3 separate regions of the Homo sapiens genome follow, and regions 1 and 3 are each linked to region 2. The links are contacts of gene promoters, found by promoter capture Hi-C in blood cells and fetal thymus (Javierre and others, 2016). All regions are on one chromosome and are shown on one strand. The core of a region is centred on a gene start or on the middle of the fragment in contact, and the rest is flanking DNA. Distances in the headings are between cores, read along the strand shown.

Region 1 (2,967 bases), core at 422-2,921, 300 kb before region 2:
CGGCGGGGCTGGCTCTTGGCCAGGCGGGCGTGGGTGCAGCAGCGTGGCCACGTGCGCTGGAGTGGTAGGCAGCGCGTGGGCCCCATCCACTGCTAGTGGCCATAGAGGTCAGGGCTGCTGTGGGGGATCCCCACTAGCCCCCCGACTATGCAGAGGGCCTGGGTGCAGGGAGGGACGCAAACCCCTGTGTTCCTGTCCCTGCTGCTTGTCACAGCAGCTGTCTCAGGGTGCGCAGGGGAGAGACAAGGAGCCTGAGGCCAGAGGGGCTTCTTGGAAGCTGAGTGGGTGGATTTAGGAACCCGCTGCAGGCCGTGTGGCCCGAGGACCGGCAAGTCTCTTCAGAGGGGACTCGGGCCAGGCCCGTTAAGGGCTGAGGAAGGCGCCTTTCAGGAAGGTGTGTGAGGGCACACCTTATAGGGAAGCTGCAGAGGGCAGCCTGGAGTCCTGGAAAGCTTCCCGGAAGAGGGGGTGGCCTTGGAGCCAAGTGCTGATGGCTGGGAAGATGGGAAGTGGTGGGGGGTGTTGTGCATTCTAGAGTCCCTAAGTGTTCTACTTTGTCATCTGGGGAGGGAGGTGACAAACTAAAAAGAAGGGGCTGTCTGGATGGGGATGTGCCTGACTGGGAAGAGTAGGGGAGACATGCCCCATGCACTTACTGACCAAGGACTGGGGCTCCCCACACCCCAGAATCTGCCTGGTGAGAGGCCCCACTGGGCCAGGGACAGGCCTGGATGAGGCATCGTGGCGCATTTTCCATCTGGGGCTCCCACCTCCAGCCTGTGTACCGCCCCCGCCCCCTACCCCGCCCCAGTCATGGAGCCTAGGTCGCTGGAATGGGGTGACCTTAGGTCTGTGGGCCTCTCTGAGACGGCTGCCCTGAGAGGTTGCCGGGTCAGGGCACGGGTAGCCCACATGCTGTACTGATACGCACAGCCTCTGGCCGTTACTCGAAGGAGCGATGTGGCTGAGGTTTCTTGGCAGGGCTGTGGCAGCCTCCCCACTGCCTCTGAGCTCTGAGGGTGACCTTGCAGGCCCAGCCTGCCGCACCACATAGCTCTGCGCCTGCATCCGCTCTGCACCCCCAGACTCCACTCTCTGCCCCCACTGTCTACTGCAGGTGCCCGTGGTTGACACGAGCTGTGTCCCCAGCTGTTCCCGTCTACAATGGCATCATCTTCCTCTTTGTCCTGGCCAACTTCAGCATGGCCACTTTCATGGACCCTGGTGTTTTCCCCCGAGGTAGGGCCCTGTGCTGCGGCAGCTCCTCTCACTTTCACTAGAGTGTGAGTGGCTAACTTGAGACAGCCTTAGGGATTCCTGGTGGGTGGGCTGGACTTGGGGGAGGGATTCACCTGCCAGGAAAGTCAACTTCCTGCTCACTGCCTGGCTCCTGGTCTGTAGCGGATGAGGATGAGGACAAGGAGGACGACTTCCGGGCTCCGCTGTACAAGAACGTGGATGTGCGAGGTATCCAGGTCCGCATGAAGTGGTGTGCCACGTGCCACTTCTACCGCCCGCCGCGCTGCTCCCACTGCAGCGTCTGTGACAACTGTGTAGAGGTGACCGCCCTGCTGCCCCGCGCTCCCCCAGCCCTGTGCCACATCCCTGCCTGCCATGTGCCCTGATGCACTGCTCCCGCCCAGGACTTTGACCACCACTGCCCCTGGGTCAACAACTGCATCGGGCGTCGAAACTATCGCTACTTCTTCCTGTTCCTGCTGTCACTCAGTGCACACATGGTGGGCGTCGTGGCCTTCGGCCTGGTCTACGTGCTGAACCACGCTGAGGGGCTGGGAGCCGCGCACACCACCATCACGTATCCTTGGTTCCTGTGGGCCTCATTGCAGAGGCGATGTGGACCGGGGACACGTTCACCAGGGAGATTGAGCCTCAGAAGGCTTGGTTCCTGCCCAGGGATCCCCAGTGGGCAGGTGGCCGTCCCTAGGTTGGGAGGAGGTTTGTCCACAGGCACCTGCTCTGTGCTGCTGCGATGGGGTCTGCGGTGTCCTGGCCTGCACCGTTGGCCTTAACGGGCTAGCATGGCTGTCATGTGTGTGGCCGGCCTCTTCTTCATCCCTGTCATTGGCCTCACTGGCTTCCATGTGGTGCTGGTCACTCGGGGGCGCACCACCAACGAGCAGGTGCAGACCCCATGGGGGATGGGTGGCCCCAAAGGGCCGAGAGAGTTGGGGCTGCATGGGGACAGGGTGGGGGCTGGGGCACCCTTGCCTGAGGTAGCTTGTGCAGCTGTGTTGAGACGAGGCTCCAACTCTGAGACCCCCACGTGGGGCTACGCCTGCCCCGTCCCCTGCGCACATCCTGCCTGTGGACACTGTGGCCACCAGTGACCCAGAAATCCCACAGCTCCCTGCAAGTTCAGGCTGGGTAACCTATGTGAGGGGCAGCCCTGGGCTGATCCCACCTAAGCCACTTCCCGCAAGTATCAGCTTCTAAGGAACCCCAGCTCCCTTGCCCAGCCCCCTGCCCACCCTGGCCTGGACCTTGGGAGGCCAGGCTGGCTGAGGGTCCTGCATCCACAGGTGACTGGGAAGTTCCGCGGGGGTGTGAACCCTTTCACCCGAGGCTGCTGTGGGAATGTGGAGCACGTGCTGTGTAGCCCCCTGGCGCCCCGGTGAGGCCCGGCCTGGGCAGGGTGGAGGGGGGCCTCTGCTGGGTGTGGGGCGGGCAGCCTTAGACCCTCTTGGTCCGTTTGGCTCTTGCCAGGTATGGCCAGCCCTGCCCTTGTGTGTTTGTGGCAGGTGGGCTGGCTACTGACCCCTGTGCCCTGGTGCAGGTACGTGGTGGAGCCACCCCGGCTGCCGCTCGCGGTGAGTTTGAAGCCGCCTTTCCTTAGGCCTGAACTCCTGGACCGAGCTGCACCGCTCAAGGTCAAGCTTAGTGACAACGGGCTGAAGGCTGGCCTGGGCCGTAGCAAGGTGGGCGCCTGGGCTTAGGGATGGGCTGGCA
Region 2 (2,700 bases), core at 49-2,548:
TCCGGACCAGAGTTCGGAAACCCCGCGCTGCCCCCTCGCAGCCCCTTGTCTCTGGCGCCGAGCCCCTGGACTCGGCTTGCCCCGGGTCCGTGGCTCAGGCGCCCCGACGCGACCCAGCTCGGAGCCCGGCGGCCGCCTCTGCGGCTGCCAGCCCGTGCGGCGTCTCCAATCCGCGCCAAGGCGCCCCCACACGCCCGCTCCTCACCCCTGCGTGGAGATGCCCTTGACCTTGTGGCCTTTGGCCAGCCCACCGGCTCCCCCGACCCCAGCTCCTAACTCCTGGCGTCCGGGGCTCACCTCTCTGCCCTCCGTGCAAACTCCCGGACTCGCCCCCCCACCGGCCGGGCCTGTCGCCTGCCTGTCCCACACTGGCTTCCCCAGCCGGCGCCCCACATTTGCGCGGCCCCTTCTTGCACCCAGAATCCCCACCTGGTTGTCGCCAGGGTTCCCACATCCTCCGGTCCCCTGTGCCTGTCATAGTCCTTCCGCCTCCCGCTTCTGGTCCACTTCGAGCGCCGGCTCCTCGACGCTCGCCTGGGTCACCACCCTCCCACCCGCGCCCGCTCTAAGACGCGAATCTGTCTTTCCAAGTCTGGCTTGCTCCAGGACCTCCCCGGCTAGCACCGCTCCTCCTCCCCTGACCTTCCTCCTCACTCCCACTCCCGGCTCCAGTCGGACTAGTGCGGGGCTTTAGCACATGCAGTTCCTTTGGCTTGAATGCCCTTCCCCAGCTTTTCCCCGTGGACTTCACAACTCGGTCAAGGGTCCCTTTTTCCAGGTCTTTCCTGATATCCCGGACAACGCGTGTCATCCCCTGGGTGCCCACGGCACTCCATCCTCCCCTCAGGTGACTTCTCGTCCAGGGTTCCCTGGGATGCACTGTCGTGGCCCATGGCCGAGGCTGGGCCTGGAACGGAGCCGCGCTGGCTAGGGAGCCGAAGGGGCCCACACTTGGCGTAGGAAGGTTCCGGTAGCCCCCTCCCAATGCCCGGCGCCGCCACACCACTGCCCAGAGCGTCCCTCTCGCCCCCTCCCCCAGCCAGGCCGGCTCCTACCCGGGAGCACGGCACACGTTGCGGCCGCGAGGGTTCAGTTCCTGAGGCGCCACGGTGTCCGGCAGCATCCAGAGCAGCAGCAGCAGCAGCAGCGACGGCAGCAGCGGTGACGGCGGCCCCCCGGCTCCCCGGCGCCGCGCCGGCCCGGCCCCCCGGGGCCCTGCGCCCTCCATGAGGCGCGGGGCAGGCGCGGGGCGGGCACGGGCGCGGGTGCGGCCGCAGCGAGAGCGGCCGGAAGCGGAGTGCGAGGCCGGGCGGGGGGCGGCAGGAGGGGCGCCGAGCCGGGCAGGAAATTCCACATCGGCTCCCTGATCCCGGGCCAGCCGCGGCCGGCCAGGCGGCAGCGCCCGCCCCGCGCTCCAGACCCCACCCTCCGGCCTAGCCACCGCCCCTCCGCGCAGCCCCCGCCCCCATTTGGCCGCTCGCAAACTTGGGGGCGAACTTGGAGGAGGCCCGCCGAGCGCTGGTGGAGGGAGGGTCCGCCCGAGGAATCCCCGGTTCCCGCGCCTTTCCCTCCGCTCCCTAGACATCTACCGAAGCAGCCGCCCCTGCGCGCCCACTGCGTAGGCCAGGCCCGGGACGGGAAGGCGGATCGGGGACACGGACGCGACTCCGCAAGCCCACCCCCGCTCCCAGCGCCTCGGAACCGGCCAAGGGAGTGGGGCCCGCAGACAGCCCAGGTCGAGGCCGAAAGCCAACTCCACAGCACCCCACCGCGAAGTCCTTGTAGTGCTGGGGTGTGCGGTCAGCTCCCCCTGCGCACTCCTGCGCACTCAGAGCTCGCAAGGGGCGGACCGAGCAGGATGCTTGAGGCCTGTGGTAGACTCGGTCCGGACCAGAGGCCTGGGGGAAGGGGTCTCCGTAGGGACGGATGGGAGAGATACAGAGGAAGTAGAATGGCCAGGCTGTGGACTGCGGTAGGAAGTAGAGGTAAAGACAGAAGGAGACCCCCGGGATGGAAACCCTGCAGTCCTAGTTGAGGAGTGAAGGGGGCTGGGGGAGCCTGGGCGGTGGATTCTGCTGGCTGTCGGATTTCCAGGAGAGGCTGGGGCTAGAGAGTGGGAACTCCTGCATCAGGTAAGGTGGGTAACAGCACAGAGCAGAAGGAAGGTGTGGGAAGGGAGCAAGACAGAGGGACAGGCCCTAGGGAGCCAGCGGGGAAGCTGGACTTGGACTGGGAGGCAGCAGGGTGCGGGTCCCCGGGGGGCAACTGGGGCAGACCGACTCTGGAAGTTGGGCAGGGAGCACAAATGTCCCGTGTGTAGCCAGGTCCTAGTGAGGATGTTTGTCTTTTGGGGACTTGAGAGCTGGCAGAAGGCCTAAGCAGGGAGCGGGCACCTCCGTTCTTTGGGGAGCAGGCCACATGCGGCCCACAGGCTCACTGAGGGAGGGCAGGCAGACTCTGTCCAGGTGTGGCCAGATAGCCCCGAAGGGTGGGGCTGGAGGAGGGGGCTTGGAGGAGGAGCCACTGAAAGGCCCAAGGCCATGGGCATCACCAGGCTGGCACAGGCAGAGAGTGGGATGGGGAGGAGCAGGCCCCTCACTCAGCCATGCTGGTGCAGGAGGGAGGTGGGGTGGGCTGAAAGAGAAGTGGAACTAGTGTGGACACGAATGCAACTACCTGGGGACAAATAAACAGGCCAAC
Region 3 (2,700 bases), core at 78-2,577, 260 kb before region 2:
CGGGGAAGAGCGGCAGGTACCAAGTGCAGACAGCAGATGTAGATGCATGCGGGGGTCCGGGCTGGGGCCAAGAACACAGCCCTGGAGTCAGGGACACCGGCTTCATGTCCTCACTCTGCCATTCAAGAGCTGGGGGACCTCGGGCAGGTGGTGTAGGAACAGGGAGGAGTCTGCCTGCAGCACGCAGAGGAGGGCTGTGCTGGTCAGGGGGTGTTTTGGGGAGAGGACCTCAAAGGGAGGTTGACTTTGGGAAAGGGGTCAGAGTACAGAAAAAGTGGGTCCAAATCCTGCTTCAGCACTGAGACCCTGCCTCGGCAGGGGTCTCCAAGCTTGGCTCCACCCCCTGAGGGGCCAGTTACTGCATACCTCGCCCACCCAGGAGCTGGGGGCCCTGGTCCTGTTTCCCAGGGAGCTGTTGGCACTTGTGGGCTCCTGGCTGGGGTCCAGGTGGGCTCTGCTCCTCTGCCCTGCCCAGCGCTTTGTACTGAGCCCATCCTGCAGAGACTCAACGGGGCCAAACGCACATTCCTTGACCTTCTGTGAGTCTGTCAGTCTTCATCCCTCCCTGGACCTAGGAAGGCCTGGACAGCTTTGACCATTGGTGTTGGGTGGACATGGCGCTGCGCTGCACCCCAGGCCCTCAGAGCCCAGCTGTTCTGCTTTCTGCTTTTGGTCCTGAGCTGCCTTGAAGGAATCTGACCAGCAGGGAGAGCCCACGGAGCGGGAGGGCCTGTGGGGCTCAGCCCTGCAGCCGGTCTGCCGAGGCCAGGCCTGGGGGCACAGCTGGGGCTGAGTACACTGAATGCCCCCTCGATGCCATGCACAGCAGAAGAGCTGCCCACACCGCCCTGCTGGGCCCTGCCCGGGCTCCAGACCCACAGACCAAGCACACAAGAGACTGGGCTGCTTTGTCATGCAGCAGCAGGTAGCCGGACACATGTTTCCCCATTCCCCTGCCATCCTCTGAAATCCTGTGGGGAGAAAGCATGTGAGGTCCAGTGGGGGTTGGGGTGAGGGTCTGACTGGGGGCTTTCTAACCCACGTCTGAGTCCCATCCGGCGCCAGTGCCACAGTGGCGGGTGACTGGTGCTGCTCACACTGGCAAGCTCCTACCTAGACTTTGGAGCCCAACTCCACAAGGCCCCTGAACTACCCCTGTAGGCACCGCAGCCCCCTTGCCTTCCTCTGCTACGACATCAACCACTCTGATGGTATTTGTGGTTTGATGTGTTTAAGTAAAAGGCTTGTTGCAGAGTTTAATTGACCCCATATGTCTGCCTGAGGAGGCCGTGAGCTGCAGAGGGCAGGTGTGAGCTGGGCTCTTTCCTCAGTCCCCATGTCTTGCTGGGTACTCACAGGGCACACACGAGCACGTGCGGCAGGGGCAGGGGCCAGCGGGGGATGGGGAGGCTTGGCGCCCACGGCCCCGCTGCCCCATGTTTCCACTGCAGCCGAGGAGAAAACGAGGACTTTACGGCTGTCACAAACATTTCATCTTGTGCATTTTACAGTCCACGACTGCTGTGAACACTGGGGCTCCTGTCGGAGCTAGAAGATTCATAAAATGCATGTGAATTATTTTATTTTATTTTATTGTTTTGAGATGGAGTCTCACTCTGTCACCCAGGCTGGAGTGCAGTGGCGCGATCTTGGCTCACTGTAACCTCCACCTCCTGGGTTCAAGCAATTCTCCTGCCTCAGCCTCCCAAGTAGCTGGGACTATAGGCGTGCGCCACCACGCCTGGCTAATTTTTTTGTATTTTTAGTAGAGACGGGGTTTCGCCATGTTAGCCAGACTGGTCTCAAACTCCTGACCTCAAGTGATCCTCCCACCTCGGCCTCCCAAAATGCTGGGATCACAGGTGTGAGCCACTGCGCCTGGCCAAATGCATGTGAATTTTTATGTTCAATTATTCCAGGTTCCCTGCTCGGGGCCCATGGGCTTCCCCATGTACAACCCACCGGTAGGTCCCCGCCCAGTCCATGCTCCTCAAAGGCCAGCCTCACACCCATCCCACGTCCTCTTGGCTGGTAAACACTCTCCCCCTTCTTCCTTCTCCCTCCACATCTCAACTGCTGGAAGGGAAGAGCTCCTCAGTCTACTTGGAGTCCCTCCTGCACAAGAGGATCCAGGGTGGTCCAGGAGGGCCAAACCCACCTCTTTGGGTGCACCCCTGGGCAGTGGATTGGGGATCCAGGGCTTGTGGGGGTATGCACCCACCAGGGCAGGTCCCTCAGGCTCACTCTCCCTGCGCCTCAGTTTCCTCTCCTGAAAAATGGGCTTGTGACTAAATGTTGCAGGGAGCTGCTGAGAAAACGCCTGCTGAAAGCTTGGCAGGAGGTCATTGTGACCAGGGATGGGGCTGGGTGCTTCGGTCAGGCCAGGGCTGGAGGCAGGGGCTCACACTGGGGTCAGCAGTGCAGGGGCGTGGCTGGCGTGGCAGGCGCATGGGGATTGGCTCATCAGTTGCGGCCTCACGTCCCTTCGTTATGGCGCCTGCAGAAGATGTTCTCTGATTAGTCTGCTGAATTATGAATTAGGTTCCGGGTCCCTGTGCAGCTGTTCCCGGCTTGTCATCCCCACCACTTTATTTCCCCATCTGTTTATAAAACCAGGAGCGCCGTCCTGCAATAAACACTTCAAACGCTTTTTTTAGGGGCTAATTAATTGTGTTGCATTTCTTCGACACAGCATGCAGG

The links. The method cuts DNA at HindIII sites, captures the fragments that hold promoters and counts their contacts. A CHiCAGO score of 5 or more calls a contact.
Region 1: a contact is called between a fragment that was not itself captured here and the fragment with the promoter of SCARF2 in region 2, in 3 of 17 cell types (M0 macrophages, endothelial precursors and M1 macrophages). The highest score is 7.4, in M0 macrophages.
Region 3: a fragment that was not itself captured here is called in contact with the fragment with the promoter of SCARF2 in region 2 in 2 of 17 cell types (erythroblasts and endothelial precursors); the score reaches 5.4 in erythroblasts.

What each region holds. Positions count from the first base shown.
Region 1 is chr22:20,138,077-20,141,043 of GRCh38, forward strand. It overlaps ZDHHC8 (zDHHC palmitoyltransferase 8), which reads left to right. Exons shown (of 11, transcript NM_013373.4): 2 at 1,118-1,239; 3 at 1,402-1,559; 4 at 1,644-1,816; 5 at 2,039-2,141; 6 at 2,541-2,632; 7 at 2,795-2,936. Among named protein-coding and RNA genes, the nearest start is that of ZDHHC8, 7.8 kb to the left of the region's middle. RefSeq lists an enhancer at 1-107. The HindIII fragment of the contact is 2,442 bases long and covers 451-2,892 here.
Region 2 is chr22:20,436,527-20,439,226 of GRCh38, forward strand. It overlaps SCARF2 (scavenger receptor class F member 2), which reads right to left and starts at 1,299. Exons shown (of 11, transcript NM_182895.5): 1 at 1,056-1,299. The coding sequence starts at 1,228. LOC107985588 (a long non-coding RNA gene) reads left to right here and starts at 1,470. Exons shown (of 2, transcript XR_001755623.2): 1 at 1,470-1,985. The HindIII fragment of the contact is 6,009 bases long and covers 1-2,700 here.
Region 3 is chr22:20,174,381-20,177,080 of GRCh38, forward strand. No RefSeq gene overlaps it. Among named protein-coding and RNA genes, the nearest start is that of CCDC188, 25 kb to the left of the region's middle. RefSeq lists an enhancer at 2,411-2,700. The HindIII fragment of the contact is 2,001 bases long and covers 328-2,328 here.